Linked DNA regions of Homo sapiens: all the other regions are linked to region 3. Evidence: promoter capture Hi-C in human tissues and cell types (Jung and others, 2019). All regions are on one chromosome and are shown on one strand. The core of a region is centred on a gene start or on the middle of the fragment in contact, and the rest is flanking DNA. Distances in the headings are between cores, read along the strand shown.

Region 1 (2,898 bases), core at 168-2,667, 510 kb before region 3:
TCCCAGCACTTTGGGAGGCTGAGGTGGGTGGATCACAAGGTCAGGAGATCGAGACCATCCTGGCTAACACGGTGAAACCCCATCTCTACAAAAAAATAGAAAAAATTAGCTGGGTGTGGTGGCGGGTGCCTGTAGTCCCAGCTACTCGGGAGGCTGAGACAGAAGAATGACCTGAGCCCGGGAGGTGGAGCTTACAGTGAGCCAAGATCACTTCACTGCACTCCAGCCTGGGTGGCAGAGGGAGACTCTGTCTCAAAAAAAAAAAAAAAAAAAAAAAGACGGGCTGCCCTTCAACAGGTGCTGCTTACATCAAGGTAAGTATCTCCCCTGAGCTTCCCAGTCTGAGGAGTTTCCTAAAGCCTGGAATCCTTTGCTGCCAGCCCTGAAATAGGAAAGCTGTGAGTGTCTGTTGTCCTTCATTCCTCCTCAGCAGTTAGGGAGCTGTTCTGGTGCCAAATCCTGGACAAAATAACAAGAGCATGAACTTGAAGTTGCCCAGGGCCTGATTACCCAGATCTACACACCTGACTCTACTGAACTACAGAAAAGGCCACCAAAAACCAGATGGTGGGAAATGACCATTTTACCCTGATTTATTAATCACAAGCATATTCATCTGGTCTAACATGCAGCTGATGCCAGTTAATGTCGTATGAAGTCCCCTGAACTAAGGTAGGCTTAGACTTGAATTTCCTGGCAGTAGCACTAGTAGAGCCTCATTATCCTACAGATAACTACTTAGTTAAAAGGTAAAATCCCCAATCTTAAAGTCTGTGTGGATGACCCCAATGTATTTTATTTTTTGAGACGGAGTCTCACTCTGTCGCCCAGGCTGGAGTGCAGTGGCACAATCTTGGCTCACTGCAATCTCTGCCTCCCGGGTTAAGGTGATTCTCCTGCCTCAGCCTCCTGAGTAGCTGGGATTACAGGTATGTGCCACCAAGCCCGGCTAATTTTTGGTGTTTTTAGTAGAGACAGGGTTTCACCACGTTGATCAGGCTGGTCTTGAACACCCGACCTCAGGTGATCCACCCAGCTCGGCCTCCCAAGGTGCTGGGATTACAGGTGTGAGCCACCACGCCCAGCCCCTATTTTATCTTATTTTACTATTATTTTTGAGACAGAGTCTCGTTCTGTCACCCAGGCTGGAGTACAGTGGCATGACCTCGGCTCACTACAACTTCCGCCTCCCAGGCTCAAGTGATTCTCGTGCCTCAGCCTCCCAAGTAGCTGGGATTACAGGGGTGCACCATCACGCCTGGGTAATTTTTGTATTTTTAGTCGAGACAGGGTTTCATCATGTTGGCCAGGCTGGTCTCGAACTCCTGGCCTCAAGTGATCTGCCTGCCTCAACCTCCCACAGTGCTGGGATTACAGGCATGAGCCACCGCGCCCTGCCGACCCCAATTTAAAAACTGAAAAACAATAAGCATGGCTTCTTTCTAGAAAAAATCTTTAAAAAAAACAAAGTTCTGGAAGGTTAGCTGGCCTTTCAGGCAGGCATCTTCCACCAGTGCACTGACCCAATTCCTGGTCTCCTAAAGCTGCTGTGTTTGGAAACGTGGATGCTATTAAGTCTCTTCCATCACATTATACTTTATTCAGCTAGTAATTATGAATATGAGCTCAGCTCGGCAGAAAACAACGGACGGTCAGCAGCCATTCTCAGGGAGTCCGCTCCCCTGGTGTCCAGAGAAGAGAATATTCCCGTGTCCTCCAGCCAGCCTTTGCTGGTTTTCCCAATGAAGTTTAGCATCGAAAAACCTTCATGGCCAGGCGCAGTGGCTCACGCTGGTAATCCCAGCACTTTCTGAGGCCAAGGCAGGTGGATCACCTGAAGCCAGGAGTTCGAGACCAGCCTGACCAACATGGAGAAACCCCGTCTCTACTAAAAATACAAAAATTAGCCAGGCGTGGTGGTGTGTGCCTGTAGTCCCAGCTACTTGGGAGGCTGAGGCAGGAGAGTCACTTGAACCTCGGAGGCGGAAGCCACAGTGAGCTGAGACCGTGCCATAGCACTCCAGCCTGGGCAACAAAAGCGAAACTCCATCTAAAAAAAAAAAAAAAAAAATTAGCCAGGCATGGAAGCGCATGCTGTAGTCCCAGCTACTCAGGAGGCTGAGGCAGGAGAATCACATGAACCTGGGAGGCGGAAGTTGCAGTGAGCTGAGACCGCGCCATAGCACTCCAGCCTGGGTGACAGCTAGACTCCGTCTCAAAAAAAAAAAAATTCTGTGGGTAGCCTTCATTCCTCCCAAAGCAAATCTGAAGCTATAATCCATGAAAAGAATTGCAACCCATTAAGCTACTAATTAAAACTGGTACATAACAGCAAGTTCGAGTATCAGTTTCACAGGCATGTCAGCAGGTTTTCTGTTTAATATGTTTTAAAATTAATTTCAGCTAAAACATGAGGAATAATCATTTTGCTCTTCGAGCCTGATATTAAAAATTTGCTTTTAATGTGAGGGAAATATTTTTTAAATTAGACAATTCATATCAATTCATAAACTGAAATAAGATGTTATTCTGAACTCTTAATTGTGTAGCCTTTAGCTATTTTATTTTAAATCAAAGACAGAGCTTCCCAGCACCATAATGAACATCAGAAGAAAAGCCCAGTGCCCGCACTCAGCACAGTCCAGTCGAACCACAAAAAAATCTTTATCAAAGATCTTCACTTTGGGTTCCAAATTACTCAAGACACGTCAGTATTGGGCATTATTGGAATTTAAATAACAAACACTTTTCAAATGACTTGGGAAGGAGGAGAGGAAAGATCACTGCTGCTTAATACATTTTATTCAGGTCTGTCATTACACTTGCGTGAGCATTCATGGGTGAGGTTTTATTTGCAGGAGGAGAAGGTCTTCCAGAAGAAGTTCCTGCAGGGCATTC
Region 2 (3,115 bases), core at 192-2,691, 350 kb before region 3:
GCTATTAGTATTACATGTTTAAAAGAAGAAACAGTCATATGGGCTGCGTAACTGTGCATTACCTTTTCTCCATCTCTTGTTTCATATCAATTCCTTGTTTTTCCAGAAGCTCCCTCTGGGCAAATGTCCAGTCCACAGGCTCAGAGGGGGTCTCAGCAGAAGGAGTCTTCTCTCGCTCAGCTCGTGCTTGTTCCGGGTGGTTAAAGCGGAAAACATGGTTTTTACCCATGATGATACGGTTTCCTAGCACAAAACAGAAAAATAGGGTTAAGAAATAATTTTTTTAATATATAGTATCTATTTAACAACCTCACCCCTCCCTAATGTGAAAAGACAGCTTTCAGAGCTGTTGTTTTTACAAGAACAAAAATCCTAATGCTGACTATTACTTCAGCCTTTAAACAGCCAAAAATTAGAGTTGTCACAGAAGCCATGTGCACATTGCTGAAGATGGCAAACCTCTCCCAGTCTCACCTGAGCGCAGCTGAACAGGCTGGGACACCCTCTTGCCATTTACGTAGGTTTCTGAGCGCTCACAGGGCTCTAAGGTCACGATAACTAAGAGGAACAAACACAAACTAATGTTATCATTACAAACTATTGGAATCAAATAATGGAAAGCAGTTGCTTATCAGGATTTGCAGTAAGTAGAATAAATCCCTGCAATCAATCAAGTGGCTGAAGTTGTCTATACAGTAGTTCATTTTGGGGTACCAGAACTAGCCCCAATAGAAGAGGCTATCTGTGGCCATGGCTAACACAAGAACATTTAACTCTATTTGATAAACCTAAGAAGATGATAGGAAATATTAGTTTCAGGGATCTCTGACGGTTCAGTCAATAAAACTCAGAACCATCAGAAATTGTAAGGATGAGATATAGGTAATAACCAGAAACTAAAGACTGAGAAGCTAATATTTTGATAAGGGAATGAGTGACTTATATAACAGAAAAAAACCATTAAATTGTTGTTTTGTTAATAACCCAGGCAAAAATCAAGACTGACTTTTTCTTCCCTTTTAGATAAAAATAAATTCTGCTGGGTTGACTTAATGTCCTTCAAATCTCCTATTACCCAGGATATCTGCTATTTTCTTACTTTTCTATTAAATAATTAACATTCCAGACCAAGCCTAATTGCCTATGTCCTTCTCAGTTCTTGGCAGTAAAAAAGGGCTTCTTTTGTCCAAGCTATTTTCATGTAAAGCAGCCTTGTCCATCTCTGCATTCATAAGCAGCCCAGGTCTCTCCATTTTTCAGAATTAGATTGTATAAGAAAGTACTACTGATAGACAGAGAATACAAAGTCTTAAGGATTTCTCATAATATAAAATGAAAATGTTGTTGCTGAAGCTCCAGCCAGGAATGCTCACCTTCCCCGCTGTTGCTTCTCTCACTCCGGAAGATACAATGCTCTTCTTTAATGTGAGCCCCGCTCAGCACTATGTCCTGGCGCCGCTCAGCATCTGCTTGGCCAACCCTGAACACAAGAGAAAGTGTTTCCCAGGGAAATTCAGACACAGAAAGCACTACAAACAATGAACCTCTTTATTCCAAAGAATATCCTTTGGTACGTACAAAAAAGGTATTGCCTTGTTGCATCAGAAGCTTTCAACTATGAATTCTATCCTCACATATGATCAACCTCTCTACATCAGAATAAGAAACAAGGAGCACTGATATACCAATGTAACTCATACAGTATTATAAAGACATGAGTCAAATAAAATCCCTAAGGAATGTATATTTGTTAAAGGAAAAAAAAATTATTTAGGGTCTTCAGAGAAAAACTACATAGTAACTGGCTCCAGTGGCAAAAACACATTATTTGGAAAGAGAGCATAGTTTGTAACTATTTCAGACAAAAAATACAGCAAATCATTACGTTAATTTTTTCAACCCCTTCCCTTTAGTTATTCAATTATCTAAGAGGGGGAAAACACACGAAGTGACCAAAACAGGAAATAAATATACCTTGTAATTCCATCTTTGATGTAATAAAGTAGGCACTCAGACATTAGTGGGTCTTCATTGAGGTTAACAAGATGTGGGGTCTGAAAAAGATTACAGATGATCAATTTGGAGCAGGGCACCATGAGAGAGCTGTGGTAACAACAGGGGCCTACAAGAGGCCAGGCTTCTCCAACTCTCCACAGAGCCTAGAGAGGGATTTCTTTTTATCCCTAGTTGCGGTTCCATAATAAAGAGAAAACACTCTCTTCAGGCCTCACCAAACGGAACCAAGTGCATTCTATTTTATTTTAATTAATTAATTAATTTGAGACAGAGTCTCGCTCTGTCTAGAGTACAGCGGCATGATTTTGACTCACTGCAACCTCTGCCTTCCAGGTTCAAGTGATTCTCCTGCCTCAGCCTCTCAAGTAGCTGGGATTACAGGTGTTCGCCACCACGCCTGGCTAATTTTTCTATTTTTAGTGGAGGCAGGGTTTCACCATGTTGGCCAGGCTGGTCTCGAACTACTGACCTCAACTGACCCACCCTCCTTGGCCTCCCAAAGTGTTGGGACTATAGGAGTGAGCCACTGTGCCTGGCATTCCATTTTAAAACATGAGTTCTGGGATAAAAAAACAAGACCTAATTTTTGATAAGGTCAAAGCACAAGGAAAAAATGACAGGCCAATTCTCTGAACGGAATAATTATAATTTTTGTAAATGCCTGGGTAAAAATCTCAAGAAATATTTACTTTTATTAAAATGTCCCCATACCCCCCCACCACTTCCCACTATAATTTTTATCAGTTCTTCTGATCCCAGTTATTAATTTGTCTTTACCTTAAAAGATTTTAATTTATTAGTCTTTACCTTAAAGAAAAAAGTAAAATTACTGATATTCGATAAGATAAACATCTTCTAACAATCCTCTTCATCTAACTCTAATATTTCTAAAATCTTTTTAAAAAACCAACCTTCTTTAGTGAAAATAACCCACTGGAATCCAAAAATAAGTCACATGGTCTTGAGGCCAAAATCTACTCAAGAGAGTGCCAGCAAATGTGGAAGAATGAAAGAAGAGTCAGATGAGGGGGTAGGAAAAGGAACTATAAAAGATGGTTAAAGAGAAATCTGAAAAACCTCCACATCTTCTCAACTAGCA
Region 3 (2,890 bases), core at 147-2,646:
CATAATCAGACAGAACTAAGTGAAACAATTAGTTTTGGTAGAGTTCTGTGGTAATCATAGTTAGAAGTTTATCCTGGGTAGCTGAAATATAACTAACTTCAGACTCCAGGCCTGTCGGTGGCTTGTGCCAATCACCACAACACTTTGAGGGGCCAAGGCCAGAGGATCGCTTGAGCCCAGGAGTTCAAGGCTGCAGTGAGCTATGATCACACCACTGCACTCCAGCCTGGGCAACACAGCTCTTGTTTTTTAACAAGACATTGTTACTTAAAAAAAAACTGCCCTGATGAAACAATTCTACCATGAACACTGATGTTGTTCTGTGGACTACTTCAGGAAGATGGACTAAGAACATCATTAAATAGTTCCAACCAGTTTCTGGGTAATTTTATTTTTAATTTTTTGTTATGAGGGTCTTGCTATGTTGCCCAGCCTGGGCTCAAATGATCCTCCCACCGCGGGCTCTCAAAGTGCTGGGTTTACAGGTGTCACACCGCGACAGCCAAGGGTAACTTTTTTTTATTTTTATTTTTGAGATGGAGTCTCGAACTGTCGCCCCGGCTGGAGTGCAATGGCGCGATCTCGGCTCACTGTAACCTCCGCCTCCAGGATTCAAGCGATTCTCCTGCCTCAGCCTCCCGAGTAGCTGAGATTACAGGCGCCCACCACCACGCCCAGCTAATTTTTTGTATTTTTAGTAGAGACGGGGTTTCACTATGTTGGCCAGGCTGGTCTCGAACTCCTGACCTCGTGATCCGCCTGCCTCGGCCTCCCAAAGTGCTGGGATTACAGGCGTGAGCCACCGCGCCCGTCCAAGGGTAACTTTTTAAGAGCTGCCCTACAGCTCATTACCTCCTTCTCAAGGAGCATGAGTGTCAAACCACCTCCAGCAAAGTAGATGTAGTCTTTTACAGATTTGGAAAGAAGGATTTAGGAGGAAAGGGAAGTCGTTCGGAATGAAGGATTTCCTCCTCTGACGCCCAGCCGTCCCCCGTTAAGCCTAAAGGTGCCAGACCTCAAGACTCTTCTAGAAAGAGATTTTTCCTTTCCAAGGTGAATCCATCTGTTCCGAAGGTCAGAAGCTATTTTACCGAAGTTTTCCGTTCCACTGAAAAAATTAAGGGTCAATCAAAGCTCCTTGCCCCAAACCTGAATATGAGCTTGCCTCGGGTCATATTCGACTCTAAAGACTCCACCACACCATCCTGGACTCCCCTATATCTAGGACAAAAAGCGACCAGTTTCTCAGGGGCTCCTTGCGGGGAGCTTACCGCGCCCTCACTGTCCGCCGGCCCGAGTGCTACCGGAGATCACCAGCGGCCCGGACGCCAGCGAGTGGAACATCTCGGTCGCACTCTCATTGGTTCCAGGGGGCCGGAAGTGCGTGCGTCCAGCGGAAGTGCTCCCCCGGCGCGGTCCGCCAGGCCAGTGCCCTCAGGTAGGCGGGGCCCCTGGCCCTAAACTCTGGGACTGGCGGGCGGTCAGGCGGCACAGGGGGAATCCCGGGGGCCTAAGGAGGTTGTCCCAGTTTTTGTCAGGTAGGCCCGGAAGGAGTTTCGGGGACCATGGGTTTACGGCTACCTCTGGTGGCAATTGGGGCCTGTTGGAGCCCGGCCGCCGCGGGACCTACGTGCCGGACTTCAAGTTCCCGCGTGGGGTGGGATTTGCTGCGGTGGCCGGAGCTGATTCTTCACCCAGTCCTGTTGGTTCTGGGCCAAACCCTCCTCACTTTCAAGGAAGAGGCGTGCTCTCCGCCCTTACCTTTTCCAAGCCTCTGGGTTTGACGCCATCCCTCAAGGCGTGTCCGGATGCGGGATTTTCCTCAAAGACCCTCTCGGCCTCGCTAGGAAGAAACTCAGAAAGGCTGCGGTAGGCGCAGTCGAGGGGGAAAGTGCCCCCGCCCTTGATGTCTCAGGCTGCTCAAGTGGAAGTTATCTGGACTGCCTTAGGGCAAGTTTATATATAGCAAATAAAATTACTTGTTAATGGTTTCCTTTTTTCCAGCATCTCCACCCCGAGGTGGTTTGAACTTTGAGCCTTTTGTAGTCCTGATGAATAATTTCATTTTCCTCAAGTTTATGACACTCGGAACGTCAAGAACTGGAGGTTTGTGCAATTTGAGACCGGTCGGCACTGTGCAGAGATCAGAGTACTAAGAGACAGGTGAGCATGAATGAGGACCCTCCGCTCCAGATATAGTGTCTGAGAGCGGTTTCTGTAGTTTCGTAAAAGTGAAAAGTGCACCACATTTAGTGACTACTAGGTGGTGCCAACGAGTTAATCTTTCGGGGATAAATCTCAACTAATGTAGTACCAGGTTAAGGCTTTTAAAATGCACCCATTTTTACTGAAATGTATTCAGAATAGCTTTAGCTCCTTAAAATATGTTGAGCCTTTATATACGTGACCAAATTATCGACGTTCTATTCTGTATTAGGTACTGAGAAAGCTGAGAGAGGAATCAGACTCATATTCTGTTCTCCAGAGTTTAGTCAGAGGAGATAACGTATTATAATAAAATCATATATAATTAAAGGCAGAAATAAGTGCTAAATAGAGAATAAGATTTGAGCTGGGCGCGGTGACTCACGCCTGTAATCCCATCACTTTGGGAGACTGAGGCAAGTGGATCACCAGAGGTCAGGAGTTCAAGACTCGCCTGGACAACATGGTGAAACCCCATCTCTACTAAAAATACAAAAATTAGCCAGATGTGGTGACGCATGCCTGTAGTCCCAGCTACTGGAGAGGCTGAGGCAGGAGAATTGCTTGAACCCAGGAGGCTGAGGTTGCAGTGAGCCGAGATCGCGCCACTGCACTCCATCCTGGACGACAGAGCGAGACTCCGTCTCAAAAAAAATTTTAAAAAAAAAGATTTGAATGCTAAAGA
Region 4 (2,948 bases), core at 50-2,549, 290 kb after region 3:
GAAGAAGCCCCCTTGATGGAGTCTGGTGGGGTTCAAGATCTGCAGGTCCCACCTTCCAGGGAACACCTGCACAAGTGAGACCTGCCCGATCAGCCCCGCGCTCCATCCGCAAACTGGGCAGATCCCAAGGGTGCCACGCGAGGACCCTGCACCTTGGCCGCTCCAGGGCGCCCCCCACCCGCGACCCCGGAAATCTCGCCCCTACCTGCTTCACCCTCGCCCCACCCACAGCGCACTTTTCGGGACCTCCCAGCGGCCCTTCCCCGGTTCTCTGGACCCCCGTCTCCCCGCCCTGCAACGCCCCCATCCTGGTGCCCACGAAAGGTCGTCCCAGTTCCCCTCTTCTCTACCTCAAAGGAGGAGGTGCAAATGAGGAAGCCTAAATAAAAACAGGAAACTCGATTTTTTTAAAAAGCCTCATTCAGGCTGAATTACGGGTAAGAGTATTTTTTTAAAAAGTCCGGAAATGCAAAGCTGGGGGCGGTTTTGCCGGCGTAACCCCGGCTCGGCCGCAGATCCGGAGCTGATCTCGCCTGCGCCGCTGCAGCAAACGCGGCGAGCAACGCGGGAGGCCCGGGACTGGGAGGCGGGGCGCGGGTCCACGAGCCGGGAGGAAGCCCCGAAAACTTCCACCCCGGCCCCTCTGCAGCCCCGCTCCCCACTTGCCCAGGCTGGGAAGGGCGCACAGGACCCGGGCGCCGGCGAACTGTGCGCAGCCCTCTCTCCGCGCCAGGGCACTCGGGCGACATCACCAGCGCGCTCTCTGTGGACCCCGCTGCCGTACAGAGGAGGCCCCTGGTCCTCTAGTCAGCGCTCGGAGCGGGCGCACGCGCTGAGCGCTTCCAGTATCCTCGCGCCTCAGCCGGCGCACCGGAGGCCGCACCGCCGCTGTGAGCGCAGCTGAAACCCCGCTGCCGGGCCAGGCGGGCAAGGCGCGCAGTGCAGGCGCCGGGGAGCTGCGCACGCCCCTCTCGGCGGGCCCACGGGGGACGGCCCCGGGCCTCTAGGGCAGCCCCCGCCCAGGTCCCAGCAGCCCGGCCCCCGGGGCTCCCAGGACCCGGCTCGCTAGACTCGGGGAGGCGCCCAGGGCCAGGGCGCACGGGCTGTGTGTGCCGGAGAGACGCCCGCCAGCCAGCCCCGCGCCCCCGAGCGCAGCCGCAGCTCCCAAAGCCCCTGGCCGCGGTCCTCTTCCCACCTCCCCTGACGCAGCCAGCGGCGATCGCTTACCGTCCCGGCGCAGCTGGCAGGGCTGGGCGGCTCTGCTCGCGGCCGCTCGGAGCGACTGCGCTGGGCGCGAGTGAGCCTCGAGGGAGGGAGGCGGGGCGCGCCGGGGCGCCCCGCCTGCCGCCAACCCGCACACTCCACTTCCCACTTTGTTTCCTTTTCACTTGCAACAGGAAAAACAACAGGTCCTCCAGGGCCTCGCCTTCCCCCGCCGCCCACACTCCCCAGTTCGCCTACCGCTAGAGGGGCATCATCCCAGGTGCCTCTGGAAGCTGCACCTTGCTTGCCCTTCTACAAAACAAGTTTTCTTTTTATGCAAAGGAAAACAACGAAATAAAGGTCCTAGGCGCCTTTAAGCGCTCCGCCTTCACGCAGGAAAGAATTTCAGCAGGAGCGGGAGAAAGGCTGAGAGCAGGAGAAGAAGAGGGGGTAACCTGCAGCTCTAGGCACCCAGGGACCCCAAGCGCCATTGCGAGGTGACCAGTGTTGGGGCTCAGGACACACACCCAAAATGTGACTATGGGAGACCAGCGTGTGCCACCCCAAAATATACTTCTTCGCCATATTTTGAAGGGATTATTCTTAGAAACTGCAGGCACAGGAGTAGATCTGAAAAGCTGTCCTTTTGTAAAATGATTTCTATCTATAAAGAAAATCTCCAGGCCTGGCACTGTGGCTCACTCCTGCAATCCCAGCAATTTGGGAGGCCGAGGCGGGAGGATCACTTGAGCCCAGGAATTCAAGCCAGCCTGGGCAACATAGGGAAACCCCCGTCTCTACAAAAAAATTAAAAATTAGCCAGTCGTGGTGGTGCACACCTTGTAGTCCCAGCTACTCGGGAGGCTGAGGTGGGAGGATGGCTTGAGCCAGGGAAATGGAGGCTGCAGTGATCCATGATGGCACCACTGCACTCCAGCCTGGGAAACAAAGTGAGACCCTGTCTCAAAAACAGAAAAGAAAAGGAAAATCTCCATTGGTAAAGTATTAGTATCAGGCGGAGGGCTGCTCAGAGCTAACTTTTCTTACCTGAGAAATTTTATCCGCATAAGAAGACAAGCTTCATTCACCTTACCCTCTCTCCCCTCACTCTCCCTTAACTTGTGTACCACCTCCCCAGGATCCCAAGCCTCTATTCCTTTTTTTCTTTTCTTTTCTTTCTTTTTCTTTTTTCTTTTCTTTTTTTTGAGACAGTCTTGCTCTGTTGTCCAGGCTGGAATGCAGTGGTGCCATCTCGGCTCACTGCAATCTCTGCATCCTGGGTTCAAGCAATTCTCCTACCTCAGCCTCCCAAGTAGCTGGGATTACAGGCACACGCCACGACACCCAGCTGATTTTCATGTTTTTTTGTTTGTTTTTTGTTGTTTTGTTTCTTTGTTTTGTTTATTTTGAGGAATCTTGTTCTGTTGCCCAGGCTGGAGTGCAGTGGCGTGATCTTGGCTCACCACAGCCTCAGCCTCCTGGGTTCAAGCAATTCTCCTGCCTCAGCCTCCTGAGTAGCTGGGACTATAGGTGCACACCACCGTGCCTGGCTAATTTTTGTATTTTTAGTAGAGGTGGGGTTTCGCCATGTTCACCAGGCTGGTCTTGAACTCCTGACCTCATGATCCACCCGCCTCAGGCTCCCAAAGTGCTGGGATTACAGGCGTGAACCACCACACCTGACCCAAGCCCTATTCCTTTCTGAAGGAATGTTTCCTGTCCCTTGTAGGATGTTATATGAGCTT

Evidence for each region. Contacts are between HindIII fragments. The study calls those that stand out against the background at their distance.
Region 1: a contact is called between a fragment that was not itself captured here and the fragment with the promoter of LZIC in region 3, in 1 of the 25 tissues and cell types used here (aorta).
Region 2: a fragment that was not itself captured here is called in contact with the fragment with the promoter of LZIC in region 3 in 2 of the 25 tissues and cell types used here (hippocampus and mesenchymal stem cells).
Region 4: a contact is called between the fragment with the promoter of PIK3CD here and the fragment with the promoter of LZIC in region 3, in 4 of the 25 tissues and cell types used here (IMR-90 fibroblasts, mesendoderm cells, neural progenitor cells and 1 more).

The regions. Positions count from the first base shown.
Region 1 is chr1:10,451,546-10,454,443 of GRCh38, reverse strand. It overlaps CENPS-CORT (CENPS-CORT readthrough), which reads right to left. Exons shown (of 4, transcript NM_199006.3): 4 at 2,291-2,898. CORT (cortistatin) reads right to left here. Exons shown (of 2, transcript NM_001302.5): 2 at 2,446-2,898. The coding sequence ends at 2,849. Among named protein-coding and RNA genes, the nearest start is that of CORT, 3.0 kb to the right of the region's middle. The HindIII fragment of the contact is 5,212 bases long and covers 1-2,898 here.
Region 2 is chr1:10,294,025-10,297,139 of GRCh38, reverse strand. It overlaps KIF1B (kinesin family member 1B), which reads right to left. Exons shown (of 49, transcript NM_001365951.3): 18 at 1,975-2,054; 19 at 1,374-1,480; 20 at 475-558; 21 at 63-243. Among named protein-coding and RNA genes, the nearest start is that of KIF1B, 85 kb to the right of the region's middle. The HindIII fragment of the contact is 6,454 bases long and covers 1-3,115 here.
Region 3 is chr1:9,941,897-9,944,786 of GRCh38, reverse strand. LZIC (leucine zipper and CTNNBIP1 domain containing) reads left to right here and starts at 1,396. Exons shown (of 8, transcript NM_032368.5): 1 at 1,396-1,538; 2 at 2,005-2,163. NMNAT1 (nicotinamide nucleotide adenylyltransferase 1) reads right to left here and starts at 1,312. Exons shown (of 5, transcript NM_022787.4): 1 at 1,272-1,312. RefSeq lists enhancers at 1,227-1,796, 1,064-2,263, 1,797-2,367. The HindIII fragment of the contact is 33,243 bases long and covers 1-2,890 here.
Region 4 is chr1:9,650,082-9,653,029 of GRCh38, reverse strand. It overlaps PIK3CD (phosphatidylinositol-4,5-bisphosphate 3-kinase catalytic subunit delta), which reads right to left and starts at 1,299. Exons shown (of 24, transcript NM_005026.5): 1 at 1,228-1,299. It overlaps PIK3CD-AS1 (PIK3CD antisense RNA 1), which reads left to right. Exons shown (of 2, transcript NR_027045.1): 2 at 1-420. RefSeq lists an enhancer at 247-316 and a silencer at 497-1,386. The HindIII fragment of the contact is 15,008 bases long and covers 1-2,948 here.